Regions from separate parts of the Homo sapiens genome. Here region 1 is linked to region 2. Evidence: promoter capture Hi-C in 16 types of primary human blood cells and fetal thymus (Javierre and others, 2016). All regions are on one chromosome and are shown on one strand. The core of a region is centred on a gene start or on the middle of the fragment in contact, and the rest is flanking DNA. Distances in the headings are between cores, read along the strand shown. Region 1 overlaps NAV3 (neuron navigator 3). Region 2 holds the start of E2F7 (E2F transcription factor 7).

Region 1 (4,801 bases), core at 2,030-4,529, 870 kb before region 2:
CTCTCATTTCAAAGGGGATGATTCACTCTCAAAATTAAGGGCTAGTCACTTGTGACAAAGCAAAACTTCCCTCTGGGATGACTACTGAGGAAACTCCCATTGCAAATCAGTTTGGGTTTTCTCTCTCTTTATTGTTTCTATCATTTTGAAAACAATCTTGCTTGTTCATGTAAAAGAAACCCACCTGGACTGATTTACATAGAAACATTACTATAAAAAATTGTGTTTCTCTGAGAACACTATTGAATTTGTCATGTGAGATACTGTATGTGACAAGATTTTGGCATCATTTTATGAGATAATTACAAATACCTTCCTGTCTAAGAAATTTGATTTGGATTGTCGTCTTCCATTTAAGCCTCTTGAAATGTGTTTATATGAGAGAATAGAGGCAGCAAATGGAGTTATTACACAGAAATTACAATGTAGAATTCAGAAGTGGATTATAAGGCACAAAATTGACAATTTGACATAAAATAGAGGTGTCTCTTCAACAGCAGATCATGATATACAGAAAAGCTGAAACTCTACAAAAATTTCACAAAAATAAAACATTGTTAATTTTTTCAATTGAATAGAATACTTACTAATTGTAAGGGAAAAATAAGCATGAAGATTTCAGCTTTATGGGTGGTACATATGCATATATTAGTGGATTTATTACAAGGCACTCTATGATGTGGTGTAACAGAAAAACAAAATATTTGAAATGAGAATAGAAGAAAGAAAGTAAGAAATACGCTTGTTAAAATTATTGTTAGAAGCACTGGAATTAGAACTGGAAATAACATAGAACCTAGGCCTGAGAAGTGAGGAGAAGGACCTTCCTTGCAGTGGGTATAACATATAGAAAAGCCGACAGGCAAAGAAATCTAGGACACAGCAGTAAAAACTGTAATTGAGGCAGAATGTCTAAAATTAGGGAAAATTAGGCTGAAAAGGTAAGTTGCATTTTATAGTTATGAACACTAAATGCCAAGCATGTTAAAAACTTTTTAAACATTTCTAACAAAGCAAATTCACATTTAAAAAAGTAATAATAATAAACCAGAAGTATAGAAACTAAAAAATGAAAGTCTCCCCACAACTTTCAACCCTGTCCATTTTTGAATAATTTGGTATGAAGAGTTCCAGAATTGATGTATCTACACCGCACTTCACACCATGCCACAGAACACACACACACACACACACACACACACACACGAGATCACATTTTAAACCAAATTTGGCTCAAATTTTACATATTATTTTGCAGTTTCAAATTTATAAGTAACAATATTTTAACAGCTTTTCTAAGAGCCATTTCATGTATGTTCATCTATTTTTAATATTGCATTATATATATCAATCCCCCAGTTGATAGATATTTGACTTGTTTAAATGTGTTTCTATTATATCTAAAGTTGCAAGAGACAGCCTGACATATGTACCTTCCTGAACTCATATGCTAGTATTGTTATATGTCAAAAACCTAGAAATGGGGCTGCTAAGTGTTTTGAATGAATCTTGGGTCTAAATATCACAAGATTACAACACAGAAGAAAAAGTGTTCCTTTCTATTAGAAAATACAAAGTAGTCCTACTGGCATCATAAGACTAGTACATATCTGGTGGTGATTAAGTTTCTTGAAAGATGTAAACAACTGGAAGCATCCCATTGCATAAGAAAAATATATGTGAGAGCAAAATTGCATCTCCTTTTATTAATATCCATGATCTCTATGTTGAAGATATTGAAGGGTAAGAAAAATTACTTGCATAACTGTCTCCTGAATTAGCACACAAATACATGATTTTTAGGTGGATGCTTTTATTTGGTAATAATTTTTCTCAGTTAAGATTTGATTATATTTGTATGATCATACATTTTTTGGAAGGATTTTATACTGTTTAGAATTTAAAACATTGAGCACACTCCCCTTCTTAACACTTCATTTAAATGATAGAATTGTTTTGGCCTTCTAGTAGAAACTTCAGGTTAAGTCAGACTTGAGTTGTGCCGATCTGTCCATAGGCAAAGACTGGGGCCATGGGTTGAAAAAGGATTCACAAGGGTGAGGAGAATGAGTTCTGGAGTCAGACAGATCTGACTTGAGACCACTTACTACCAGTGGAACCCTGGACAAGTTACTTAACCTTCAGATTCCTCTTGTAAAAAAAAGTCTTGTTGTAAAACAAGGAGAAAAATAATACTTACATTATAGGATTGTGCCAGGACTAAATAAGATAGCACTTGTAAAGCATCTGTCACAAAGCTAGTCATGAAAAAACATGCTTGCTATTATTATCATCACATGGCATCTAGTTTTATTTTGCTGTGATAGCTTTCCAACAAATACTTGTTAAAGTTATAATTTCACAAATGTTAAGAAAATTGAGAAGGCTGGCATCAGAAGACTAAAGAAATTGTAGTAATTGCTTCTGACACTACTCCTATCACTAATTCTGCCTGCCTTCCACTTCACAGGTGTTGTGAATCTGTCTGCCATCTGAACTCAGGGAAATCTAAATAACAGATTAAGGCTGTCATATTCTCATTCAGACCTGTAATGTCTCTATTGTGGCACCACTTCCATCAAACTGTATTTCGTTGGTTTTGTTTTATGATAACATTAATTATACAAAAACATTTGTTTAAATAAAAAACAAAATGATATGAATGGAAAGTGAAAATAAGAATACTTTCATTCTCCAAATGCATGTCAACAGTTCCTTAGCCTTTATCCAAATTCATCCTGGGACTTAGGTGAGAAAACAAATGGGAGGCCAGCTAGTTGGCTTCAAGATACCTTGTTGGTAATACCTGTGTTTTAGCTCACAAATCATTTTTTGTTTGATCCAGAATTTCTTCCAGAGGAATCCCAAGCTTAAGGGCTTTGATATGTCCAGCATCTCTAATATCTGAAACTTTGCTCAGGCCGTATTTCTAACTTCAGCTGCAATCAGTGAGAGCAATGGCTATATAAAGAAATTTAATGCAAATTTAAAAATAATTGTAGTACACTTTATTTGTTCCTTCTAATAAACAGCTGTGTCTTCCATACTTAAAAGATACTTGAGACCCTCCAAGGAAATGACAAGAGAGGGAAAACCAGTGCCTTCCAAAAGGATATTATAATCTAGATGGTGAAATATTTCAAAAATTACAAAGTAACATGTAAATATATTTTAAAATATTATATACAAACATACTTCTCTCTTTCAAAATTGTATATGTGTAAGTTGAATACAAAGGTGGAAAAATGAGTTGTGTCTTTAAGGAGACTTCGAGCAAAGGACACATGGTATAAAAATGTATTTAAAACTCATCAATAAATGTACTGTAATGCCGTGATGAGAGAGAATACAAACAACCTTGTCAACTGTCATTAGAATGTGATCTTTAAATAAATACAACAGGATGGTGAAATCAGGTCCTGAAATTGGATTTGAACTCCAAAATTGCCCTCAGTTCATTATCACAAAAATAATAATCACAGTATTTAACATTTTAGTTTCAGCTGAATGAGTTACAAAATGTGCAGTAATGTATTTTGCAGGCTTATGCTATGAATTAATTATAGTTTTTTTAGTGAAGAAATTGGTATAATTGGGAACAATATCAAACTAATCATAATTCAGTGTTTGGTAATTTTTGTAAAAGGGTCATTGAAGATTTTAATCATGAATGTTCTGGCTAAAGCTTCCAATACGATTTATCTCTGGAAATCTGAAGCCAGTCTTCTTCGACTGTTTTGATGAACTTCAACGTGATGAATATAAATATCATCCCATCTAATAATTTTATCTCAAGGAATTCAGAAGAATTACTGAGATTGCGTTTACAAGAGGGCTACTTAGAAATTCTAGTACAATTGCATGCATAATCATTCATTAACCATAATTAAAAGTGATAAAAATCAAAGGTATCATGGTATATTTTACATTTATCAGTATGAATTTTGGGGCCTATTATGCAATAGCATGTATTCTTTGAGGAACAATTCACATTGTTGGAATGTCTGCTCTGCCACTTAATATTTGTGCAGACTTTGATTGAACATTTCTTTTCTCTAAATTCCCCAGTATTCTCATCTGTAAAATGGCAATAATATTATAACCTACTGATACGGTTTAGCTCTGTGTCCCCACCCAAATCTCATGTTGAATTGTAATTCCCAGTATTGGAGGAGGGGCCTGGTGGGAGGTGACTGAATCATGGGGGCAGACTTCTTCCCTTGCTGTTCTGATAGAGTTCTCATGAGATCTGGTTTTTCTGAAAGTGCGTAGCACATCCCCCTTGGCTCTCTCTCTTCCTCTGGCTCCCACCACGTAAGATGATCTTGCTTCTCCTTCACCTTCCACCATGACTGTAAGTTTCCTGAGGCCTCCCCAGCCATGCTACCTTTGGAGCCTGCAGAACTGTGAGTCTATTAAACCTCTTTTCCTTACAAGTTACCCAGTCTCAGGGATGTCTTTATAGCAGTGTGAAAACAGACTAATACCTCAACCAATGGAATTATTGTGAGGATTTAATGAATTTCTACTTTGGAATATGGACTTTCACTATGTTAAATATTGTTATTAGTAGCTCACTGCTTTAATATGAAATACATTTCCATTAACCATGAGAAATATTGTAAACCATTATTATTGTTAAACTCTTAAATCATATATATTCATCCAAATATAGTTTACCTAACTAATTAAGGAAAATTGCAGGAAGTTGTAATGACCTTGTAGCTTCATCATTTGCCTCTATGATATTTCTCTTACAGTGCTCATTATTCACTATAAATATGAGGATGAAATAGAAGGC
Region 2 (5,394 bases), core at 1,871-4,370:
TTGAGAGTGAGGTATATGTCTTCTCCCCTTGAATGTGGATGGATTTTTGACTGTTTCCTCCCAAAAACTGTAGTGGAATTGATGCTATCAGTTCTTAGGCTACGTCACAAAAGGTGATACTATTTCCACTTTGCTACATGACACATTCATTTTGGATCCCAGGAGCCACCCTGGAAGAAGTCCAACTACCTTGAGCTACCAGGATATCTAGACCAGGCCATATGGAGAGGTCACATGTCGAGACTCTTCTTGATACTCCAGCCTAGTTCCCAGCCAACATCAGTGTCAACTGAATTACCGAGAGATTAACAGGTTATGTATGCATTCTGGGACTTAAAAACATCAATATAAATAAGTGTGTTGGAATAATGTCTCTGAATTTGTCCATCAAACATTTATTTTTCAGTTTTCCTCCAAATCTAAGATAACTCTTATAATCAATGAAATTATAAGTGCCTGAAGTGATGTATCCAACTGAGTTTTTTTTGTAACTTGAATAGAAATTACATTTGTATCAAAATAGAAAAAGTACTTTTACTCTAAAAATGTTAGGAAAAGCCCTGTACCGTGAAACTGTCTAACCTCAAAGAAACGATCATTAGTATTTTGAAATATCAGAGAAATGAATGGACTTTAATAATTTGAATGTTGGTCTAGAAGGCTGAATGGTGGGCCCCAAAAAGGTGTATCCATGTCCTAATCCCCAGAACCCATGAAGGAATGTTACTCTGGAAAGAGGATCTTCCCAGATGCAATTAAATTGAAGATCTCAAGATGAGATCATCCTGGACTATCCAGGTGGGACCTAAATTCATTGACAGGTGTCCTCATAGGAGACACACAGGAGAGACTTAACAGACAAAAGAGAAAGCAACGTAACTATGGAGGTAGAAATTGGAGTGAGGCTGCCACGTGTCAAGGACTGTTAACAGCCACCAGAAACTGGAAGAGGAAAAGGACAAGAGCCCCAGAGGGAGTGTGGCCCTGGGAATACCTTAACTTTCCAGAACTGTGAGAGACTAAATCTCTGTCCTTATAAGCCAGTTGTAATTTGTTACAACAGCCATAGAAAATGAATACTGTTGGGAAAAGTATTTCCTTATCTAAACTTCTGCTTCCACATATGTGCAAAATTTAATAAGTTGCAATTTTTTATTGTTTAAACTTCTCATTAGGTTTCTACCTACAAAAGAGATTTCAGTTCAAAATGTTATTCCTATAAAAAATGTCAGATTTTTATTACTATTTTCTTTTGTTTAATGTTTTGCATACTTTTCTCTTTTCAATGTATGACCTAGCAGTGATTTTTTTTTTTTTAGGCCGTATTTACCAGCAATCTAGAGTACGAAGTGAAGGACTTGATTGAGCATTCTGAATTCTGCTGAGAGTTCATTTAAAATATATGTATTTGAGGCCGGGCACGGTGTCTCACACCTGTAATCCCAGCACTTTGGGAGGCCAAGGCAGGCAGGCAGATCACCTGAGGTTAGGAGTTCGAGACCAACCTGGCCAACACAGCAAAACCCCATCTCTACTAAAAATACAAAAATTAGCTGGGCGTGGTGGCGCACGGCTGTAGTCCCAGCTACTCGGGAGGCTGGGGCAGAGAATCGCTTGAACCCAGGAGGTGGAGGTTTCAGTGAGCCGAGATTGGGCCACTACACTCTAGCCTGGGTGACAGTGCAAGACTCCGTCTCCAAAAATAAAATAAAATAAAAATATTTGGAGGGTAAGTGGTGAAGAATGGAGTCTTGGTATAGAAAGGAAAATGATACCTTTGCTGTAAAGTAGATGGGGGGTAGGGACATGTCTGTACATTTAAGAATGTCTGATGCTTTAAGAAGGCTGTCTCACATTTCAGTTGAGGGATATCTTACAAAATACTTGACCAATACTACTCAAAAATGTCCAGGTATCAAAAATGAGGAAAGTATGAGAAACTGTCATAGCCAAGAGGAGCCTAGAGACATAGGAACTAAAGGTAATGTGGTATCCTGAACAGAAAAAAGGGCCATTAGGAAAAAATTAAGTAAATCTGAATAAAGTAATGACTTGAGCTCAGAAGAATGTACCAATATTAGATCATTAATTTCAAAAAATATTCTATACTAACACAAAATGTTAATAGTGGGTGAAATTGGGTGCTGAATATATGGGAATTCTTGGTACTATCTCAATTTTTCTGTAAATTGAAAACTTCTAAACAATAAAGTCTGTTTTGTAAAAAGTCCATCTCTACCAACATTCATATTTTAAACAAGAAACTGTAGGATGAAAGAAGTGAAACATTTAATACAGATCAGTGGTGTTGAGGAAATTTTCTAGACTGTCTCCCAGAATGCTAGTCCCTATTGCAAAGAACTACTTTTTTATATAAAGCTTTTTCCCTCCTAATTATTTGCAATTTGCCGAAAAGGGAACACCAAAAAACATTTCCGGATTTGCCACACACACAAAACAAACAAACAAAAAAAAGTTAGAAAAACTTCTGGTTTGGCTTCCAGTCTTGTCTCCAGGGCTAACTGGCGTGCCATCTGCTCGCAGCAGAGCGGTAACCATGGTTCATGTGTCACACCAGCGTGCGATGTTAAGAAGTTTGCCCCGGCAAGTCTGGACAACTCCGCTTCCGCACAGGTTGCTGAGGGCGGGCGGGGATGGCGGCAGCAGCATCCAGAGGGTGTAGATCGTTCTTCCAAACCCCATCTGCTTTCCTGTCCTCTGGCTGTGCCCGGGGTCCCCGGGCGCGGCAAGCCGCGGGGACGTGCGCGGGTCTTCTATGCATAACAAAAGAGCCCTCCTCCTCCTCTTCCTTCTCCCGCCGCCCCGCGCCGCCCCGCGCCGCCCCCACCTTGGCTTCCCGCGGCCGCCGGGGCCCGCGTCCCCAGCAGGAATTGGCTCCCGGGCCCGAGGTTTCCAGGTACCCGGAAGGGGGAGGGGGCCGAGGCGGCAACAATTGGGCGGGTGAGGGCAAAACGCGCGGCTCGGAGCGCCAAGACTCCGAGGGGCGGTGAGCCCGGGCCGTGCCGCCGCACGATTGGCCGGGGCCGCCCCGCCGGCCGCCGCTGATTGGTGGATTCTCAAATTCGGTCTCAAGGCGCCAGAGGAGGTGTTTTAGCGGGGACTACGATCCAGGCTGGAGTTGCGCTCGGCCGGTCTGAGCGCTGGCGCTGCCCGGACGCCGCGGGGTCCCCGCCAGCCCAGGGCACTCGGCGCGGGGATCTGCGCGCCTCGCTCTCCCTTCCCGATGCCGCCGCCCGGCTGCTGATCGCCGCACCACCTTCCCTCATCGGCTTGGGTCCGTGGAGGTCCCTGCAGAGGCAGGAAGCCTCCTTAGGAAAGCAGGGGTAAGCGTGCGGCCCCAGCGCCAGTGGGGAGGCGGGAATTGGGATACAGGGCCCACTCCCGCCCCGGCTGCCAGCCTGCCACTCCTCACGTCCCCCGGCTGGCGAGGGCTCGAGGTGTTTCTGCCGGGGAACCCGGTGCGCAGAGGGTGTGCCGGGTGCAGCTCTCACTCCGGCCCGGCAGTAGAGGGGATTTGCCCTTCCCCACAACTTGGAGCTTTCATTGGAGAAGTTTATTTGGGGGATCTGCTTGGAGGCCTGGGAAGGGGCTGCGCTCAGCGCTGAGTGGGTTTGGTCTAGCGATCGGGTTTCCTTCCCCCGATTCAAAACCCCTCAAAGCCGAATTCCTCTCAGTTCTTTGCGCCAAAATTAACTGACCTGGGAGACCCTGTACTTTTCTGACAGATTTGCCCAACACCCTTCCGACTTGGTAACTTTATTTTGCCATCTAGCTTTTCATAAGGAGTTACTATTTTTGTAGATTTTTTTCTTCCCAGATTTTCAGTATTACTAAGCACACTTTAGGTGTTTGAGTTTGTTCGCGTGAGTTTTAGAAAGTTGAGGGTGGCTACAACTCCTGGAAATGCCCAGGATGTGCTTAGAGAAGGGGGAATTTCATATTGACAAACAAGTAACACATATGTAGATATTTTTGTTTGAGGAAAAAATACCTAATTGCAAAATCATTTTCTAGTGTAATTGTGCATTACAGATGGAGGTAAATTGTTTAACACTAAAAGACCTGATCAGCCCCAGGCAGCCCAGACTAGATTTTGCAGTTGAAGATGGGGAAAATGCACAAAAGGTAAGCAAACATAAACACCTTAGTTTCTAATATGTTAAGGATGGTGATGTTGAATTCAATTAAGTGTTCCAACATGCCATTTGTATTTGTATTTAAGCATAATAATTAATATTGATAAACATTATAGAAACATTCTTTTTTAAAAATAGAGCCATCCAAACCATTATTGTTGGAATTCTACTCTCAGATATAGTGGGAAAAATAGGCAAGGTTACATGTAATGTTGTAACCAATTTATATAAGTCAAAAATATGCTGGCTACAGCAATCAAAGTTTATAATACAGTTGTCAAGGGTGGTGTAGCTAGTGCTCTGTAGGAATGCTAAGCCTCAGTTCCCAGGAAAATAGACCTTTGCAGGCATAAATGCTGGATTATTAAAGTGCTGTGAAATGTCTTCATACCAATGAACTAGCTCCCAGAGACTGTTCCATTCACCCAAGAGTAGACCTGTGCCTACTATATAGGGAGATAAAGTGGCTGAACTCATCAGTATATTCTGAATATTTTACCATACTGTTGCTAGTTTTGCACTGAGCCATTCCCTTACATTTTGCACCCCTTGTGATTTGTAAGACCAAGATGTTGTTTTCAAGAACATTACAAAGTAAACTGGCCATAACAATGTCTAAACTATCTGAGCATTTTTAGGCACAGGCAAATAGAAATAACAAACCAAGTTTTAGAAACTTTGAATATAAATCTGTGAGTAGCAACTTGGGCATTGAACTTCTCCGAGCTCCTGGTCTTATTTTTAGGCTTAGCATCAACAGTGAAACTCCTTGGTTGCAAAGCAACCCAGGCTCATATGAGCCTTTGAAGAATACTTGATAATTGCTAATTTAGGATAGATGCGAAATTGTATGCTCCCCCATCTAGGGATTTTTTTTTTGTCCGGCATTTTGATTTATTTTTATTAGGTAAAGAAATACAGTAGTTCCCCTTATCCACAGGGAATGTGTTCCAAGACCTGCAGTGAGTACCTGAAACTGTGGATAATAGTGAACCAGATTGCCATTAGTTGGAACACATTTCTGTTTATTCTGTTTATGTTTTCCACCCCCAAATTTAGTGCCTTTTCCATCTTAACTAAGTACTTATGTACCATGGCTATAACTTTTGCAGTTTGGGGTATGACAGCAAAACTAGCATGAATTTCTCTTTCATTCTTTACAATTTCACAGATAGGAGACTAATTCTTACAGTAGATCTTAGCAACCTTGGCGTACGATTTTCTTTCCTTAAGTCAA

Evidence for each region. Contacts are between HindIII fragments. The CHiCAGO score rates a contact against its expected background, and 5 or more counts as called.
Region 1: a fragment that was not itself captured here is called in contact with the fragment with the promoter of E2F7 in region 2 in 1 of 17 cell types (endothelial precursors); the score reaches 5.8 in endothelial precursors.

What each region holds. Positions count from the first base shown.
Region 1 is chr12:77,935,337-77,940,137 of GRCh38, reverse strand. The region is part of intron 1 of NAV3 (neuron navigator 3); the gene reads right to left. Among named protein-coding and RNA genes, the nearest start is that of NAV3, 110 kb to the right of the region's middle. RefSeq lists an enhancer at 1-620. The HindIII fragment of the contact is 816 bases long and covers 2,872-3,687 here.
Region 2 is chr12:77,063,295-77,068,688 of GRCh38, reverse strand. It overlaps E2F7 (E2F transcription factor 7), which reads left to right and starts at 3,120. Exons shown (of 13, transcript NM_203394.3): 1 at 3,120-3,344; 2 at 4,054-4,146. The coding sequence starts at 4,054. RefSeq lists enhancers at 2,501-2,730, 2,466-3,172 and silencers at 2,781-3,210, 3,231-3,280. The HindIII fragment of the contact is 4,360 bases long and covers 2,382-5,394 here.